Regions from separate parts of the Homo sapiens genome. Here region 2 is linked to region 1. Evidence: promoter capture Hi-C in 16 types of primary human blood cells and fetal thymus (Javierre and others, 2016). All regions are on one chromosome and are shown on one strand. The core of a region is centred on a gene start or on the middle of the fragment in contact, and the rest is flanking DNA. Distances in the headings are between cores, read along the strand shown.

Evidence for each region. The method cuts DNA at HindIII sites, captures the fragments that hold promoters and counts their contacts. A CHiCAGO score of 5 or more calls a contact.
Region 2: a fragment that was not itself captured here is called in contact with the fragment with the promoter of VGF in region 1 in 1 of 17 cell types (endothelial precursors); the score reaches 5.0 in endothelial precursors.

What each region holds. Positions count from the first base shown.
Region 1 is chr7:101,161,998-101,168,403 of GRCh38, forward strand. It overlaps VGF (VGF nerve growth factor inducible), which reads right to left and starts at 3,572. Exons shown (of 2, transcript NM_003378.4): 1 at 3,377-3,572; 2 at 512-2,866. The coding sequence starts at 2,846. The coding sequence ends at 999. RefSeq lists silencers at 741-830, 1,391-1,440, 1,601-1,740, 3,503-3,602. The HindIII fragment of the contact is 10,392 bases long and covers 1-6,406 here.
Region 2 is chr7:101,299,904-101,306,309 of GRCh38, forward strand. LNCPRESS1 (lncRNA p53 regulated and ESC associated 1) reads left to right here. Exons shown (of 2, transcript NR_146480.1): 2 at 866-1,443. Among named protein-coding and RNA genes, the nearest start is that of LNCPRESS1, 3.5 kb to the left of the region's middle. RefSeq lists enhancers at 39-704, 2,204-2,905, 2,906-3,608. The HindIII fragment of the contact is 3,228 bases long and covers 1,257-4,484 here.

The sequences.
Region 1 (6,406 bases), core at 2,322-4,821:
CTGTGGCTGCCACTCCCTCCTCCCCGCATTTCTTGCAAAGTACCTAGGACCAGGAATGTAGGGATCAGTGGAGGGAGGTGGGTGGGTGAACACAGGAAACTCCGGCATTACCCGCGCGGCCCCAGGATCTTGGGAAAAAGGAGCCCACTGGCACCCAGAGTTGTGGCACCTTCTGCGGGTCGCCTTTTTCTTTTGAACCAGAGGTCGCTGGACTGATCGCAGACAATTGGCTCTTTTATTGCATTCCGCTGGGCCTCTCTCTGTCAAGCCCTGGGGAAAGATGACTTTACCACCAGCCCCCAAGCTGGAAGTGGAATTTCGGGTTTCTTAATGGGTGCGAGCCACATTCTTCTCCTCTAAAAACAGTTTGAGGACTTTCCCCACTTACCCCTTGCCTTAGTTTGGGGGCAGGAAGCAGGAGGAGACGGGGACTGTGGCTGGCGCTTCCCTCACCGCCCCTTGGGAAGGACCACACAGGCCCAAGGGGACGGGTGAATAACCGAGAACAAAGTCCTAATAAAATAGTCACTTTTATTTCTTAGCAAAACTATTTCCTCCGTGAGGGGTATTTACAACAGAGAAAGGAAAGAAGGGGTCAATTCACAGCGACTTGGAGAGGCTGGAGGGGCTCGTGGGAGGCCCGAAGGGCTGGAGACAGACACACTTCACACAATTAACTGGAACTGCTTTTTCCGGTTTCCGACGGGGACGTCCCCAGAGGGACTTGATGGGGCCGGGGCCCCGCGTGGCAAGGGAACTCGCACAAACCACCCGCCCTCCTGGGCTGGCCCCCGGTCACCCGCGGGTGAGCTCTGGGAGTTCGGGCTCAGGACCCGGGAGGGGGGTCTGGCAGGTCCCGACGCAGCCCGGGGACAGGGGCAGGGCCAAGGGGCAGGGCCGGGGCGCATGCAAACACCGAGGGGGAGCGGGCAACACGGAGGGGGGCGCCGGCGCGCGCGCGCGGCGGGGGCGCGCGGGGGCGGGACCGGGAAGGGCAGTCACGGGCGCCGGAGCAGCACGTGCTCGATGTAATTCTCCAGCTCCTCCTGCTCCTGCAGCCGGCGCTCCTCCGCCTCCGCCTCCTCCTGCGCGCGCCGCGCCTGGGCCTCCCGGCCGGGATAGTGGCGCGAAGGCGGCAAGGCGTGGTGGTAGTGGCGGCGGCGCAAGGCCGAGGGCGGCTGCAGTGTCCGCGGCCGGATGTAGTTGGGGAAAGGGTGGTACGGCCCTGGCGGGTACACCTCGTCCTCCTCCCGATCCCAGGGCGGGAGCACCTCGTTCCAGTCCGGCAGCTCGTCTCGTGCGGGAGCGGGGGCGGGGGGCGGGGGCTGCGGGGAGCGGACGTGGGTGGGGGCGGGGGCGGCACGGGGGGGCGGCACGGGCTCGGGAGGGGCGTTCTTCTTCCGCTTCCGCTTCTCCTCCACCTCCTCGATGATGCTGACCACGTCGTCCGCTGGCAGGTGGAGTTTGGTGGACAGCTCAATGAGGCTGTCGATCGTCTGCGGATCCATCTCCTCGTCGTCCTCCTCCTCCCCGCCCTCCTCTGTCCCCTCGGCCTCCTTCCGCCGGTGGCCCGGCGTCTCCTCCTGGGAGCGCTTGTCCTCGGCGCCGGCTTCCCCGTCCTCCTCCTCCGCGAACAGGAGCGCGTTCTGCCGCGCCCTCTCCGCCTCCTCCGCCTCTGCCTCCGCCTCGGCCGCCTCCTCATCCTCTTCCCCCACCCTCTCCTCCCCGCCGCGTCTCTCCTGCTCCGCCTCCTCCTCCTCCCTTGCACTCTCTCGCTCCTCCGCCGCCTCCTGCAGCCCCCGACCCCCGAGGCCGCGCTGCCGGGCCCCGCCCTGCAGCAAATACTGGAGCAGCAGGTCCGAGGCGAGGTCGGCCAGCCGCTCTTCCTGCGCCGCGGCCTGCCGCGTGGCCTCCGCCTGCCGCCGCCCGGCCTCCACCTGCGCCAGCCCTTGCTGGAGAAGGCGCTCGCCCGCCTCGGAGCCGCCCAGGAGTGCGCTCTCCGGCCGGCGCGCCTTGGGGAACGGGGCGGCCACGCCTTGGTACGCCTTGGACAGGGGTGCCAATGCCTCGCCTAGGTGTGTTTTGGGGGAGGACACTCCTTCCCCGAACTTGTGGGTTTCGGGAAGGGGCCCGCTGTCGGGCATACGCGCCTGGAATTGAGAGGGGGCCGGGGGCGGCAGGGGCGCGCGCTCCGGGACACGCGCCTGGAACTCTCCCCAGGAAGCGCGCCATACGCGCTCTGGCCCCGGGCTCTCCAGATTCACTCGGGTCAGCGTGTGCGTGCGGGTTTCCGTCTCTGCTGCCGCCGTCTCCTGCTGGCGCTTGGCGCTACTTGGACTGAAATCTCGCAGTTCCTGGAGCAGGGACGCTAGCGCCTCGAGCTCCTCGGAGGGATCGCTCGCCTCGGGCCCATTCTCCGGAGTCTGAGGGCGAGGCGGAGCCGCGGGCTCCGGGCTCTCCGGCGCCGGGAGGCTGTGGGTCTGGCTGCGCACGGTCTCGGTCAGCAGAGCTTCAGCTGCTTCTTCCTCCGGCCCCTGCTGGGAGCCGCTTGGTGCCGGGGGTGAGGCGGGACGGTCGAGTGCCTGCAGCAGCACCGCGGCCAGCGCCCGGGGATCCACGCCCTGGAAAAGCTCTCCCTCGTCCTGCGGCTCGGAATTCCGAGCGCCTCGGACCTCTGGGGCGCTGCCATCCTTTGGCCCGGGCACTGCGTCCCCGGCTACCGGCTCTTTATGCTCAGAGCTGAGAGGAGGAGGCTGCGCCTCAGGGCGACCAGGGGGTGCTGCCCCTAACCCGTTGATCAGCAGAAGGCAGAAGAGGGCGGAAGCCGACAATCTGAGGGCTTTCATGACCAAGAGGCTGCCGGAGACTGAAAAATAGAAGGGACCAAAAAAAGAGGATTTCTGTAAGAATTCCCCTCTCTAGGTCTACGTTCCCTTCCCCCACCTTTCAGCAGGAAACCCGGGGCTTCCCTGATCCCCCAAACCTTACCCAGAAGAGGAACGTTTAGGAGCAAAGGAGGAAGATGTTGTGCCGATCTCTGGAGCCGTGTAAATGGGAAAATAACCCCCGAAGCCCTCGCTTACCCAGGGCCTCCTCGGCCCCTTCCCTGAGCCATCTCACTGCCATCGCCCACGTACTAAGCAGCAGCAATATGGGGGAAAAAAAAATCTCTGCTCCCTCCCCGTAGGACTCCCCGGATGGTGCGTGGGCGACTTCAGCAGCAAGAGAAAAAGCTGCGACTCCCCCGTTTACCGGGGACCCTTACCAGGGGGCTCCCCGCTGTGTTTGCAACACCCCCATCGAGAGGAGAGAGAACCCTCCCTCACGCCCACGGCTGGCTGCCGAGGGTTTGAGGGACGAACAGCGGAGTATTTACCAGCTGGTGTCACGACGCGAGAGGTGGAGAGGAGGGTCGGGGCAGGGTGGGGACAGGGGAAGATCGGGACGCGTCCGCCTCGGCTCCGAGCGGTGGCCGGGGTAGGAGCGACGGTCGAGGTCTGGCGTCCCGTGGGCTGGGCTCAGCTGGGTCGGCGCGGCTCCGGGCGGCTAGCTCGCTCCGGCTTCAGCACGCTGGACAGCGCCCGCGCCTCCACCGCCTTATAAAGGGGAGCGCGCGGGGTCACGTGGGCGCGCCCCGCCCCATTGACGTCAATGTTCATTCATGGGGAAGCGGGCGGCCGCCCGGAGGAGGAAGGACGCCCGACGATTGGAGGGTGCCTGCCTCTCCCGGCCTGCGCCTGCGCGCTGGGGCCTTCGGCTGAAGGGGTGTGCGCTAGCGGAGCTCCGGGAAATGAATGAATGAATGAATGAATGAAATGCTGAAGCGGGCAGGGCGGGGGGCTATGAATGAATGAAGGAGGGACGAGGAGAAAAGGATGAATGAATGAATGGGAGAATGAATGGAAGGGTGGATGCAGAGGCGCTGGAAGGCGGGAGGGTGGGTTGCAGAGCAACTTGGAGCTGCTGGATGGAGCCCGCGTTGCTGAGTGGAATAGAAAAAGGGTAGTCCCAGCGTCTGACTGGGCACCAGTGGGAGCTCAATACTGGGGAGGGGAAGGATAAAGATTCAAGAGCCGACCAGGGGGCCGGGTTCCCCACCCCGAGACCACGCGCCCAAGGACGGCGTGAACCTGAGTGCAGAGGGACAGATCTGCACGCCTGCGGGCGCTGTCCGCGAATCGGCAGTGCGGGTGGCAGCCCCCTGACAGGGGCAGATGGGTGGATCTTGCGGTTTTGGTAATCCCATCGGGAAGGGTCCGAGTCGGAAGAGAAAAGGGAAAGAATGAGGATGTGTGTGCCTCTGGGTCGTGTCTGTTTCACGATCCGTGCTGTGTCTGGAGAAAAAGGTGTGTCTGTCCTTCTGTCCCCTGACTGCCGCTTGTGTCAAGGCCCCCCGCTGTGCCCCCTTCGGCCCATCTCTTCCCACACTCCCCCAGTCGCTTTCCCTCCTGCCGCTCCCCTCCCCCAAGGACGTTTGGAGGGCGAGACCAGAGCAGGTGGGGAGGGGGTTGCGCAGGTGGGGGGGGGGTGACTCAACTCCAGCTCTCTCCACCGCTTAAAGGGAAGGTTTGAACGCGATGGGAGGGGGACCTGCAACGTCAGAGATAGCCCCTCTCTGCCACCAGCCCCTTCGACCGTATCTCCTGCCAGAGAGGTTGGGGCTGGGGGCTTGGACAGCTAGAGGTTCCGGGGGTGGGGGGCGATGACGCACAGATTTGCGCAAAGAGAATCCATCAGAGAGCTGGGTCCGGTGAAGGGAGACCAGCCGTGGGCGGGGGTGGGGGGGAGGACGGAAATGGGGAGGGGGCAGGGGAGAGGAGAGGGTGGCAAGGGGGGCAGCCACTGCAGGAATGAAGGGGAGGGAGGGAGGAAGCCTGGAGGGGGCTGCGGTGCTGGCAGAGAGCGGTGCGGGGGCGTGGGCAGGGAAGGGGGGAATGACAATGACACACGCCAGACACACACGAACTGCGGACATAGGGGTGCTCGTGGGCACACGCAGGGCACCCGCACCCTGAGACTCTGGAAACCAAGGTCAGGGCTGTCTGTCAGGGTCTTAGAGACTCTTTCAGAAACGGTCCTCGCCCCCCTCCTCACCTCTTCCTGGCACTGACCCTCCTTCTAACCTCCCCCTCCCTACACACACACTCACGTGCTTTCTCTCTATAACCAGCAGTGGCTTCTCGCTTCCATCAGTGGCTCGACTTTCCCAGAAGAAAGCCCATCAGCTCTGCGGGGAAAGAAATGGGGAGGAGTGGAGAGGGAGAAAAGAGAGAAGAGATGGGGGCAGGGGAGGAGGAAGGAATGAAGGGATCTGGAACAGGTAGAAGGAGCAGGCTAAAGGAGAAAAAAAAACTGAGAACCAAGGTGACAGTGGAGATTCCAAAGAAAGGAGGGAAAAGAGGGGGTAGGAGACCCCGAGGCGATGCCTCCCATCCCCACGCACAACTAACCACGGCCTCCCCTCCTTCCTCTCCCCGCCCCCATGTCCCCTTCATCTTCCCAGCCTGGATACAGAGAGCAGTGGGATGGGGAGGGGGTCACGTTACCTTCCTGAGGAGGATGAATCAGAGAGAGATGGCTCAGACATCTGGAGAGGGGGAGGGGAAGCCATCCAAGAGAGAAGGGAGAGGGGAGGGAGGGAGCCAAGGGGGCTGACTGAGTGGCTGATGGGGATCAGAGACCAAGTTGCAAGATGAGAGAAGACGGGCACCTGGAGAAACTGTATTTGCCTGTTGGCTTGTGTATGCACACACACCTGCGTGTACATGTACATGGCTTGTGCATGTGTGTTTATGTGTGTATGGAGATGAATGAGATACATGGCCGGGGCGGGGAGAAAAAGAAAGGGAATGGGGGGAAGCAATTGTGTATTTAATCAGATCAAGAGTGGATGGGCATGGTAGTGTTTCCAATTTAACTATGTGATGTTCTATTCCAGTCTGTGTGGCTGTGTTTGTGTTTGCTTCCAGGTGTGGGTGTGTGTGCACGCGCGCGTGTGTGTGTGCTGGGTTGTTTTTTTTTGTTTTTTTTTTTTATCTCTTCTGCATGCCTGTATGCCCATGCAGTTTGGAGTCTTTGAGCACACCCAGTTCTGGGCATCCGCTGGTGTCCAAAAAGTGTGCCTGGCTTGGTGGTACACAACAATGTGTGTGTAAGCACACACATGCCCCCACTCCACATCCCTCCCTTCCTCCACTTAAGCTCACAAGCCCAGGAGAGTTTCTCAGAAATCAGCATCCCCAAGGCTCCAGTCGTCCTGTCGTGAGGGAGCGGGGTGGATATGAATGCCTGGGGCACAAAAGGCTTGGAGATTCCACAATCTGGGTCTTGACTCTGTCTGCATGGTCTCTGGACTCATTCTGTTTCTGCCTCTCTCCATCCCAGTTCCCTACCTGGGTCAGCTCAT
Region 2 (6,406 bases), core at 1,621-4,120, 140 kb after region 1:
CGACTTCCACAGCCCCCCGACCCTCGCGGGCCTCCAGAATGGGCAGCGGCCGAGAGATTCCCCAGCGGCGTTGCAGGAGCCCACGTGGAGCCCACGGGCTTCCCTGCCCTGAGCAGCTGCAGCTGCAGCCCCCGCCACCCCGAGAGTCCAGCCCCGAGGGCAGCTCCTGCCTTGCCTGCGGTTACCGCCGCCGCCAGCTGAGGGCCAAGGAGGGAGAGGGGAGGCCAGGCGCTCTCAGGAGTCCCAAAGGACAAATAACCCCGCCGCTGCCGCGGGACCCAGACGCGAGCCAGCTGCTCGCCCGCCCTGCCCCGCCTGAGCTTTCCGCCGGCAGCCTGGGGCCCAGCCCTTCCCTGTCTGTCACAGCCAGAGCCCAAACCCCGGGGGCCTGAGGACAGTCCGCTGGCGGTTCCGTCCCGCGAGGACTGGAGCACAGGGGCCTGGGGATTGGTGGCTGCGGGTTTTGTCCGTCACCGTTGGCGGCTGAACACTCCTCCCCGGGGTCTGAGGTCTGGGGCACAGCCTGCCGATACCACCACGGACAGGCCAGGGGACTCGCTTGCCCCTCCCACCCATCAACACCTGCTGCCCCCGGGCCTGAGATTAGCCGCATGCCCAGGCAGGGACTGTCACTACCAGCATTCGAGCAGGGCACCTAGACGCCCACGAAGAGACCCACAAATCGCTCCCCTGAACCCACTAACGCCAGGGCCAGTGTACACTGCTCTGGGGCTCAAGAACAGGCAAGCACAGTCTCCACTAATAACCACACCTTAAGTCACCCAAGTAATGTACAGAGCCTACACTTCTACCTCAAACCAAAGCCAAGATCCCCTACTTAACCACATCATATCTACATCTTCAGGAAGAAGTCCTCCCCTACAAAGCGAATTCACAAACGGAAGAAGTGACTGTTCCACAGGATGCGCAGATCTCAACGGAAGGACCCAGGAGACATGAAAAAGCAAGGAAATGTGACGCCTTCAGAAGAAACCAGTAATTCTCCAGCAACAGATCCCCATCCAAAAGAAATTCAGGAAAGCTCAAACAGAGAATTGAGCAGAGAATTGACCGGACTGATTGTAAAGAAGGTCATCAACATGGAAGAGTCTTTTGAACAACAACATAAAGAAATGAGGAAAAGAGGTGGGGAGATATATGAGATGATTACCTGCCAGAAAGAGGTTTTAAAATTCAACAGAAGAGTATTTCTGGAACTGAAGAAATCATTGGATGAAATACAAAGTACACTCAAAAGCTTCAATGATAGACTAGAACAAATAGAAGAAAAACTCTCAGGGCATAAAATCTGAAGCATTTTTCTCACTTTAAAGATTCATGGGTTGTACTCTGGCCATTAATGTGAACAAAACCTGCTGGGTTAGTTCTTATTCTGGGGTCTTGGGTAATCGTTAGAGCGAAATAAAAATAATTTCCCTTAGAGATGGTCGATTTTGCAAGATTAGTTATCATCCAGCAGTTAGGTAAAGATGATCTGATTCAGTTACTGAATCTGATCAGTACTGAATTCAGTAGGCACAGTAATCCTAACAGGTGAATGTAGCTGAAGTACATTGTCATGGTCAAGAAAAGCCACTCTCTCTAACAGATTGCCCACACAGCTACATGTCAGCCCTCCTCGCTGCAAACCTGACAAACACTGTAGCATTTTATTATTTATTTATTTATTATTTAGAGATGTGGTCTTTCTGTACCCAGGCTGGAATGCAGTAGTGCAATTTCACTGCAGCCTCCATTTTCCGAGCTCATGCAATTATCCAGTCTCAGTCTCCCAAGTAGCTGGGACTACAGGCATGAGCCATGAGGCCTGTCTAATTTTTTTTTTTTTTTTTTTTGGTCGGAGCTTTGCTCTTGTTGCTCAGGCTGGAGTGCAATGGCACGATCATGGCTCACTGCAACCTCCGCCTCCCAGGTTCGTGCCTCAGCCTCCAGATTAGCTGGGATTACAGGCACCCGCCACCACATCCAGCTAGTTTTTGTATTTCTAGTAGACATGGGGTTTCCCAATGTTGGTCAGGCTGGTCTTGAACTCCTGACCTCAGGTGATCCTCCCGCCTGGGCCTCCCAGAGTGCTGGGATTACAGGGGCTGAGCCACCATGCCCAGCCTCCTGGCTAATTTTTGAACCTTTTTGTAGAAACAGGGTTTCACCATGTTGCCTAGTCTGGTCTTGAACTCCTGAACTCAAAGTGGTCTGCCTGCCTCAGCCTCCCAAAGTGCTGTGATTGCAGGAGTGAACCACACTTTGCCAAGCACACCCTAGCATGTTAATTCATCATTCTTTTTTTTTGGAGACGGCGTTTTTGCTTTGCAGGAGCCGAGATCTCGCCACTGCACTCCAGGCTGGGCGACAGAGTTAGAATCCATCTCAAAAAAAAAAAAATTAAAATTAAAAGAAAAAAGCATCCAAAAATGCATACATCAACGTAAAGGATTTTTTTTTTTTTGGTGAGATGGAGTCTCGCTCTTGTCGCCCAGGCAGGAGTGCAGTGGCGCGATCTTGGCTCACTACAACATCCGCCTCCCGGGTTCAAGCGATTCTCGTTACTCAGCCTCCCAAGTAGCTGGGATTACAGGCGCCCGCGACCACGCCCGGCTGATATTTTTATTTTTAGTAGAGACGGGGTTTCCCCATGTTGGCCAGGCTGGTCTCGAACTCCCTACCTCAGGTGATCCACCCGCCTCGGCCTCCCAGAGTGCTGGAATTACAGGCGTGAGCCACCGTGCCCGGCCAAATAGTCTATTTATATTAGCAAACACACCTGTGTGCACACGGAGCTTGCGGACCAGTCTGGAAGGGGAGGGCGGGGCCGACCCGGACCCTCCAGGGAACGCCCTTGAGTAACTCGCGCACTTGGGACCCATTCCCACCTAGGACCATAGGCTCAAGATGGCCTGGTGGATGCCGCCGGCACGCGCCTCTCCTCTGGCGGGAACCGAAGGCGCCGGTAGGTTTTCACACTTGCAGCCGATCGGCTAAGAGAACGCGGGATTCAGCCGAGAAGCCACTGGGAGCCCGAGGAGCGGAGCAGAGGCACCCAGGCAGCCTGCGCGGAGAAATCGGATCGGCTAGGACGGCCTGCAGCCCCTGCGCGCGGGGAAAGGGTGAGTGAGAGACCCCGGGGGCTCCGCAGTCCCCCCACGGACTTCCACAGCCCCCTGACCCTCGTGGACCTCCAGAGTAGGGGGCAGCGGGCGAGAGATTCCCCAGCGGCGTTGCAGGAGCCCACGTGGAGCCCACGGGCTTCCCTGCCCTGAGCAGCTGCAGCTGCAGCCGCCGCCGCCCAGCTGAGGGCCAGGGAGGGAGCGGGGAGGCCAGAGGCTTTCATACGTCCGAAAAGACTAATAACCCCACCGCCACCGCGGGACTCAGACGCGAACCAACCGCTTGCCTGCTCTACCCCGCCTGAGCTTTCCTGGGGACCAGCCCTTCCCTGTCCGTCCTAGCCAGCGACCGAACCCCGGGGCCCTCAGGACAGTCCGCTGGTGGTTCTGCCTCCTGAGGACTTGCGCACGCGGGCCGGAGGCCTGGGGATTGGTGACTATTCTGCCTCTTCCGCCACCGTTGGCGGCTGAACACTCCTCCCCGGTGTCTGAGTTCAGGGGCCCAGCCTGCGGATAACACCTCAGGCTACCTACAGGCCCGGGGACTCGCGTGCCCGCCCAACCTGGTCAGCCACCACCAACACCAGCAGGGACCGCCTGGATTCCGGAGGGTTGCCCCCCCAACTGCAACTACCCTGCCCACATCACACCCACTGCCCCAACGCCTGAGATCAGCCACACCCCCAGCCAGTGGCTGCCACTACCAGCATTAGAGCAGGGCACCTAGAGACACACGAATCACTCCCCACAACCCGCTAATAACAGAGCCAGCATGCACTGCTCTGGGACTAAAGAATAGGTAAGATCAGGCCACCACTGGGGCCCAAATACTGGCCCACCTGGCCGCCTAGTCCCCAGCAACCACAGCCTCCACTAATAACCACACCCTAAGCCACCCAAGAAATCATACAGAGCCTACAGTACTACCCCAAATCAAAGCCAAAGTGCCCCAGCTAACCAACACCCTATCTACATTTTCAGGAAGAAGTCCTCCCCTACAAAGCGAGTTCACAAACTTGGAAGAAGCCACTTTCACAGGATGCACAGATCTCAACGGAAGGACACAGAAAACATGAAAAAGCAAGGAAATGGGGCGCCTCCAACGGAACCCAGTAATTCTCCAGCAGCAGATCCCCATCCAAAAGAAACAGAAGACATTTTGGAGAGAGAATTGAATATACATATTATACAGTTGTGGGCATAATACAAGCATCATTTGGAAAAGAACAGAGAAAAAAGATGGAAGGAGTTACCGTACTGCAGGAAAAAATTATCAACTCCAGTGATATTATTAAATACAACCTAACGACACTTCTGAAGCTGAAGAAATCACTGGATGAAATACAAAGTAAACTCAAAAGCTTCAGTGATAGACTAGAACAAGAAGAAGAAAGACTCTCAAAACTTGAAATCTGAAGCATGTTTCTTAAAGATTTAAAGGGTTATTATACTCTGGCCATTAATGTGAACGAAATCTGCTGGGTTAATTCTTATACTGGGGTCTTGGATAATCATTAAAGTGAAATGAGAATAATTTCTTTTTGAGATGATCAATTTTATGAGGTCGATTTTTTTTTTTTTTTTTTAATGAGACTGAGTCTTGCTCTGTCGCCCAGGCTGGAGTGCAGTGGCATGATTTCGGTTCACTGCAACCTCCGTCTCCCAGGTTCAAGAGATTCTCCTGCCTTAGCCTCCAGAGTAGCTGGGACTACAGGCGTGTACCACCACACCCAGCTTATTTTTGTATTTTTAGTAGAGATGGGGTTTCACCATGTTAGCCAAGGTGGTCTCAAACTCCTGACCTCAGGTGATCCACCCGCCTCGGCTTCCCAAAGGGCTGGGATTACAGGCATGAGCCACCGGGCTGGCTGAGATGGATTCTTGTTAGGCAGCAGTCATGGAAAGATGATTTGATTCAGTTGACATTAACAGTACGCACAGTAATCCTAACAGGTGAATGTAATTTAAGCTAAATTACCAGGCAATTGTCATAGTCTGGAAAACACACTCTGCCAGGTGAGGTGGCTCAGGCCTATAATCCCAGCACTTTTGGGAGGCCGAGGAGGGTGGATCACCTAGGGTCAGGAGTTCAAGACCAGCCTGGCCAACATGCTGAAACCCCGTCTCTATTAAAAATAGAAACAAAATTAGCCGGGCGTGGTGGCGGGCGCCTGTAGTCCCAGCTACCAGGAGGCTGAGGCAGGAGAATGGCATGAACCCAGGAGGCGGAGCTTGCAGTGAGCTGAGATCGCACCACTGCACTCAAGCCTGGATGACAGAGTGAGACCCCCGTCTCAAAAAATAAATAAATAAATAAACTTTTGGAGATAAATGCCAACAATCTTCCAAAATATCCTGGGTGAGCTGTACACCCATGCTGCTACAGTGTACTCACTAAAGTCAAAAGTTGGAAACACCTAAATAGCCAACAGATGAATGGATAAACAAAATGTGGTCTGGCCATATGATGGAATATTATTCTACCTTCTTAAGGAAAGAAGGTTTTTTGTTTTGTTTTCCAGACAGAGTCTCTCTTTGTCACCCAGGCTAGAGTACAGTGGCGAGACGTCGGCTCACTGCAACCTCCACCTCCCAGGTTCACACGATTCTTGTGCCTCGACCTCCTGAGTAGCTGGGATTACAGGTGTGCCCCACCATGTCTGGCTTATTTATTTATTTATTTAGAGATGGAGTTTCATTCTTGTTGCCCAGGCTGGAGTGCAATGGCGTGATCTCGGCTCACCGCAACCTCAAGCCTCCTGGGTTCAAGCAATTCTCCTGCCTCAGCCTTCCGAGTAGCTGGGATTACAGGCATGCGCCACCACGCCTGGCTAATTTTGTATTTTTAGTAGAGACGGTTTTGCCATGTTGGCCAGGCTGGTTTTGAACTCCTGGCCTCAGGTCATCCACTTGCCTTGGCCTCCCAAAGTGCTGGGATTATGGGCATGAGCCACCATGCTCACCTTAAAAAGGAAGGAAATTCTGACACATGCTGCAATCAGGTGAACCTTGAGATCATTAGGTTACCTGGAATAAACCAGTAACAAAAAAACAAATACCATATGATTCCCCTTGTATAAAGGACTTAGAGGAGGCAACATCAGAGACAAAAAATAGAATAGAATGGTGGTTGCCAGGGCCTGGGGGAAGGAGGAAAGGGGAGTTGTTCAATGGTTATAGAGTTTCAGTTAGGGATCATAGAAAGTTCTGGAGATGGATGGTGGTGATGGTTGCATAACAATGTGAGTGTATTTAATGCTACTGAACTGTATACTTCCAAA